2 separate regions of the Homo sapiens genome follow, and region 1 is linked to region 2. Evidence: promoter capture Hi-C in human tissues and cell types (Jung and others, 2019). All regions are on one chromosome and are shown on one strand. The core of a region is centred on a gene start or on the middle of the fragment in contact, and the rest is flanking DNA. Distances in the headings are between cores, read along the strand shown. Region 1 has its middle 18 kb from the start of TMEM218. Region 2 holds the start of ROBO3 (roundabout guidance receptor 3).

Evidence for each region. The method cuts DNA at HindIII sites, captures the fragments that hold promoters and counts their contacts. A contact is called where the count stands out against the background at its distance.
Region 1: a fragment that was not itself captured here is called in contact with the fragment with the promoter of ROBO3 in region 2 in 1 of the 25 tissues and cell types used here (spleen).

The regions. Positions count from the first base shown.
Region 1 is chr11:125,128,649-125,131,348 of GRCh38, reverse strand. No RefSeq gene overlaps it. Among named protein-coding and RNA genes, the nearest start is that of TMEM218, 18 kb to the right of the region's middle. The HindIII fragment of the contact is 6,940 bases long and covers 1-2,700 here.
Region 2 is chr11:124,864,067-124,866,766 of GRCh38, reverse strand. It overlaps ROBO3 (roundabout guidance receptor 3), which reads right to left and starts at 1,335. Exons shown (of 28, transcript NM_022370.4): 1 at 1,030-1,335. The coding sequence starts at 1,189. RefSeq lists an enhancer at 343-1,019. The HindIII fragment of the contact is 19,013 bases long and covers 1-2,700 here.

The DNA of each region.
Region 1 (2,700 bases), core at 103-2,602, 260 kb before region 2:
CATTCATGTCCTTTGTAGGGACATGGATGAAGCTGGAAACCATCATTCTCAGCAAACCATTGCAAGGACAAAAAACCAAACACCGCATGTTCTCACTCATAGGTGGGAATTGAACAATGAGAACACTTGGACACAGGAAGGGGAACATCACACACCGGGGCCTGTCGTGGGGTGGGGAGAGCGGGGAGGGATAGCATTAGGAGATATACCTAATGTAAATGACGAGTTAATGGGTGCAGCACACCAACATGGCACATGTATACATATGTAAGAAACCTGTGCATTGTGCACATGTACCCTAGAACTTAAAGTATAATAAAAATAAAAAAACTAAGCAAATGAACAAAGAACCAACTAAAAAAAAAAAAAGAAAACATACAAGAAAGGAAATGTAATCACGGTATACCACATGACTTAGTTATAGGCAGTATTTCCATAGTCACAATACTATGAATACTGAATACCAATTTGACCAAAAATTATAGAGTAACTAAATTAGGAGGATTGAGGGAGAAGCATATATATATATATATATATATATATATATATGTCTGTGTGTGTTATATGTTTATATATGTATGTATTTTATGTGTATATATGTATGTGTTATATGTGTATATATGTATTATAAGTGTATATATGTATGTATTATGTGTATATATTTATGTATATTTGTATATATGCATGTATTATATGTGTATATATGTATTACATGTGTATACATGTATGTTTTATAAGTATATATGTATTTATTATGTGTGTATATGTATGTGTTATATGCATATATGTATGTATTATGTGTTAATATAAGTATGTTATGTGTATTTATGTATTATATGAGTATGTATTATATGTGTATGTATTGCATGTGTATGTATGTATGTGTTATATGTGTATATATGTGTATGTGTTGTGTAGGTATATGTGCCTATATACGTGTTATATGCATATATGTGTATGTGTTGTATGTGTATAAATGTGTTACATGTTATATGCATATATGTGTTTCTTATATGTGCATATATATGTGTGTGTTGTGTGTGTTATGCGTGTATATATATGTGTTATGTGTGTATATATATATGTGTGTGTGTGTCATATGTGTTAGAGAGTTAAATTATCATCTTCCAGAGGAAGAAGGTAACAATAATGTCAAAGTTGGGGGGTGGAAATCAACAATTAGAAGCAGAATTTTCTTTTAGAAAATATGGAGTTAAATGCTGTAAGTAAAAATTAATTTTAAAAGGGTGATAAGGAGCCCTGGGTTAGGATAATGGCTGCCGGAGATGAAAATCAGGAGATGGAGTTCAGACATGCTCAGGAAGCTGGATTTGGGGGCTGATTACGTGGACAGCAAGGGAAAGGGAAGCATAAAACACACATAAACAAAAGAAATCACTCTATCGTTTTCAGCCTGTGTTTGAATAATGACAGTGGTTGGGGAAAAAAGCAAAGCTTGAGAATGTTAGAGGCTTGCACGGAAGATCTAGATAAAGGTCACCTCAGCAGTGCCCGGTGGCGGGGGCGCCCCTCTGCCCGCCCCTCTCCTGGGCCTCTGGGGTTCTGAAGTAGGGTATTCTGAGCGCAGCTGTCTGGCAAACAGAAACCAAGAGGCTTTTAAATGTATAGGATTCAGGCACCAAAGGAGGTCTTAGAAATCACTTACTTAAATTAAATCCTCCAACTTTCAGCTAACTAAATTGAATCCCAGAGAAATTAAAATCCTAGGGAAGAAACAGTTTCAACCAAAGGGTGCTCAACAGTGTTAAGAGCTTTAGAGACGGTGAAGAAGCGAAGACCAAGAAACGGCCGTCGGATTGCGCGGTTCGGTGATCATTGAGAAAGTAACCGTGCTGGGCAAGGGTGGAAAGCCAGTTAACGCAGAAGTCAAGATACCACGGGGGCTGAGGCGCCTGCACCTCCCTGACGACGCCTGCACATTGTAAGTGCTCCACAAAGACTAGCTGTTGTTGATGTCTAGTTTTCAGATAAACATGATGATTAAACGGAGGGAAAAAAAGGCTAGTAGCTTAATGAAGATAACTAAAGGTCTTAAAGGTGTTTGGGAAAAAAAAGTGGAAATGGTGTCTAAGCCAGATGACTAAGAAGCAGAGAAGCGCTGTAACTGACAGCGGGCGGCCAGCATGGCTGGGATGGACTTTAAGGAAAGATGTACGTGCGGTGATTCGTCTTGAAAAAGAGGGCAATTCTAGACTAAAGGAGAAGAGGAAGGGTTGGGTGACTATCTGGAAGAATTTTGAATGGTAAGAAAGGGATATTTTTAAAACCTAGATCAGATGACGTCTTTTTAAGGAAAACAGGAGACATAATTATCAACCGAAAGTGGGTTTCTGAAGGTGAGATTGCAAACTTGAAGAAGAAAGAAAATAGTGCATCTCAACCAGGGGTGATTTTGCCGCCTGCCCCCAAGAGATGTTTGGCAATGTCTGGAGACATGTCTGGTTGTCAGGAAGGGACATGGTATCTCGTAAGCAGAGGCCGGGGAGTCTACTAAACACCCTACAATTCAAAATACAGTAGAGCCTTCCCTTCCCCAGTTTTACTTTCCACAGTTTCCATTACCCACGGTCAACTGTGGTCCAGAAATATTAAGAGAAAAATTCCAAAAATAAACAATTCAAAAGTTTTAAATTGCCAGCTGTTCTGAGTAGCACGATGAAATCTTGCACCAACTCACTC
Region 2 (2,700 bases), core at 86-2,585:
CGCCCTTTCCCTGGAATTTCCCCCTCTACCCTTCCCGGTCTCAGGAGATGCTTCGACTGCAGCCTAATGAATAGCTAATGGCCATGCTAATGAGGCTCTGGGGCTCCTCCCTCAGCACCTGATGTGCCCCACACATGAACACACACATATTGCCAGGGTCTCCTTTCTCTCCACCTTCGAGTCCCCAGCACAGTGCTCGTCACTAGACTCGAGTGGGTCGAGGCAGAGGGATGGGGACCGCGTGCACCTGGAGGGAACCACACGCGAAAGCGCCCGGTAAAGCGGGGGTTCCCGATGCGGCAGGCAGGGGGCGCGCTCCGGCCTCTCCGCAGGCTGGCGGCGGCCGGCTCCCGCAGCTTCCCCGCGGCGCTAGGGGAGAGCGCGCTGTCCCAGTCATTTATTAATCACCGTAATTAGCGGTAACGACCTCGCCGCCAGCTCCGCCCGCCCGCCACAGCTCTGCCGGGGTGGGCCGGCTGAGAGTCCCGCCGCTGAAAGACAAACTTCTAAGTTTCCTTAAAATGATCGCCGCCCCTATCCCCTCCGTAGCAAACACATCCAGCATTTTGGCTTCCTCTGGTCCTAAGTGAGTTCTTGGGAAACTTCGGGGTTCCGAAGACCAGCTGCCTGGGTGGGTCACCGAGTGACCTGGCTTGGCCGAGGCCGGCGGGAGACTGTGCCCCCTCCTCTGCCCTCCCTGCGCTGGGCCCGGGCCTTTCTTAGCTCGGACTTCCCTGCCCGTTACCAGCAACGGTTCTTCTCACCTGGGGTGGGCGTTGTAGGGGAAGGGAAGGAGGTGTAAAAAGACTCAGTAGCCATCTTCTCCCAAGCCCTCGACCTCCCGCGGGTACCCCCACTCATGTGCTCGAAGCTCCAAATTATCCCTTAGACCCCACGACCCAGGGAGGCGCTGGGAGGCGCCACTCAATCCCGGACCTCGGGACAGGAGCGCTTCTCCTTCCCTTCCACGCCGCCCTCTCACCTCATCCCCATCCCAGGATCCCATATCCCCAAGAGGCAGGGTCTCACCGTTGAGAGAGGGATCGCCGGGAGGCAGCAGGGTGTGGTTGAGCGCCGCCAGCGAGGAGTTGAAGCCCAAGAGCAGCTCGCTGGAGTTGGAGATGTCCCCGGCCAGAGAGTCCGCGAACAAGTTCATCTGCAGCAGCGTTTTCAGCAGGTAGCGCAGCATGGCTCGACCCAGCTGGGATCGGGACTGGGGGCTGGGGGCCCAGCCCCTGGGTCTGAGACCCGTGGGCTGGGAGCCGTAAGCCCCTCCACAGCCTCTGCGCGCTGCGGCAGCCACGGTGCCGCTCTCCTGCCGGTGCGCCTGGGTACGGTCGGTGCCTCTTCGTGCCCTCCTCCTTCCCTCGTCCTTCTCTCCACCCCCTAGTGCCGGAGTCCCCTGGGAGCTGGGCAGGCGGAAAGCAGGTGCCACGCCGATCACGGCGTAATTAAGGGATTAATCCGCCTCCCTCCACCCTCCCACCCTTACCTCTACAGTCACTATCCGAGCAGGAGACACGAGTAGCGTAGCGCGCGAGTTGGAGTCCCCGCCCCGCACCCCAAGCCCAGCGTTCCGTTCTGGACGCGGCGAGAGATTTTCCCTGTCTCAAAGCACCCAAGATGAGGGACGAGGCTCTGTCGGACTCTGCCCTTCTGCCCAACTTTAGAACAGGAATCTGTCCTCTCTTTTCCCGAACCTTTTGGAAACTGAGGCAAAGCGCAAGCAATGCTCCTTGCTGCCAAAGTTCTGGTTTCCATTCCCTCCCAAGTCTAGGGGTTTGGCGACGGAAGGGCAGGAGACTGGGGTGGTTTGCAGCAAGAGTTGGGAGTAGGCAGAGAATTCCAAGACAGGTCCACCTCTCTGCCCTCTGGTCCTTTGGTCTGCAGCCAGGAGGCCAGAGGATGGAGCGGCGCGCCCTGACCCGGGAGTCCTGCTCCAAACGCCCTAATCTAGGAGTTCCTGTAGGAGACTGAAAGCCAGGGAAACCCAGGCAACTGTCATTTATTTGAATCCTTTTACATTACCCTGCTTTGACATTTTTTATTAAATTGTTTTACGTTTTTGAGGAGACTGAAATGGAACCAAGGATTCTAGGACAAAAACAAAGATAATATTATTTTTGTAAAGGCATGTGGGATTGCTGCAAAATTAGTGCAAATCTGTTCAAATCGGATAGCAGTCGTCCTTCCTGGGGGGGGCGAAAAGAAAACCATGGGCCCCTACTCCCACCTCCCACTTCCAGTCGCGGTCTGCTTCTGACTTTTCTGGAGTTCTTTCTACCTGAAGACCCACCTCGACAAACTCACTTTCCTAGACAGGAGATGGCTTTGGGGTATCAGGGAAAGAGAGAGGCCGGGGCATTCCTAACCTGAGGTAAGGCCCTGCTGATTGAAGAGTCAGTGCCAGAGTTCTGGCTCAGCCGTCAGGTTCTGGGATGAGACAACTTTCATGGGGCGACTGCTTCTGACCCCAAAGGGGTCGAGATCAGAGGGGTGGGTGCTATACAGTCGCAGACTCTGGAGTAAGCAGAATCAAGAATTGAAATATTTCAGGCAGAGCTTGTTCAAGGGAACCCGAGACATTGTCAAGGGGTGGGGGGCTTGTTCCAAGCCTCCTTCCTCAGTCCAGGCGCCTGGCTGTGAGCCTCCAACTATGGGTGTTTAGGTGCCTTCCAACCCTAGCAGTTCTGGGCGGGA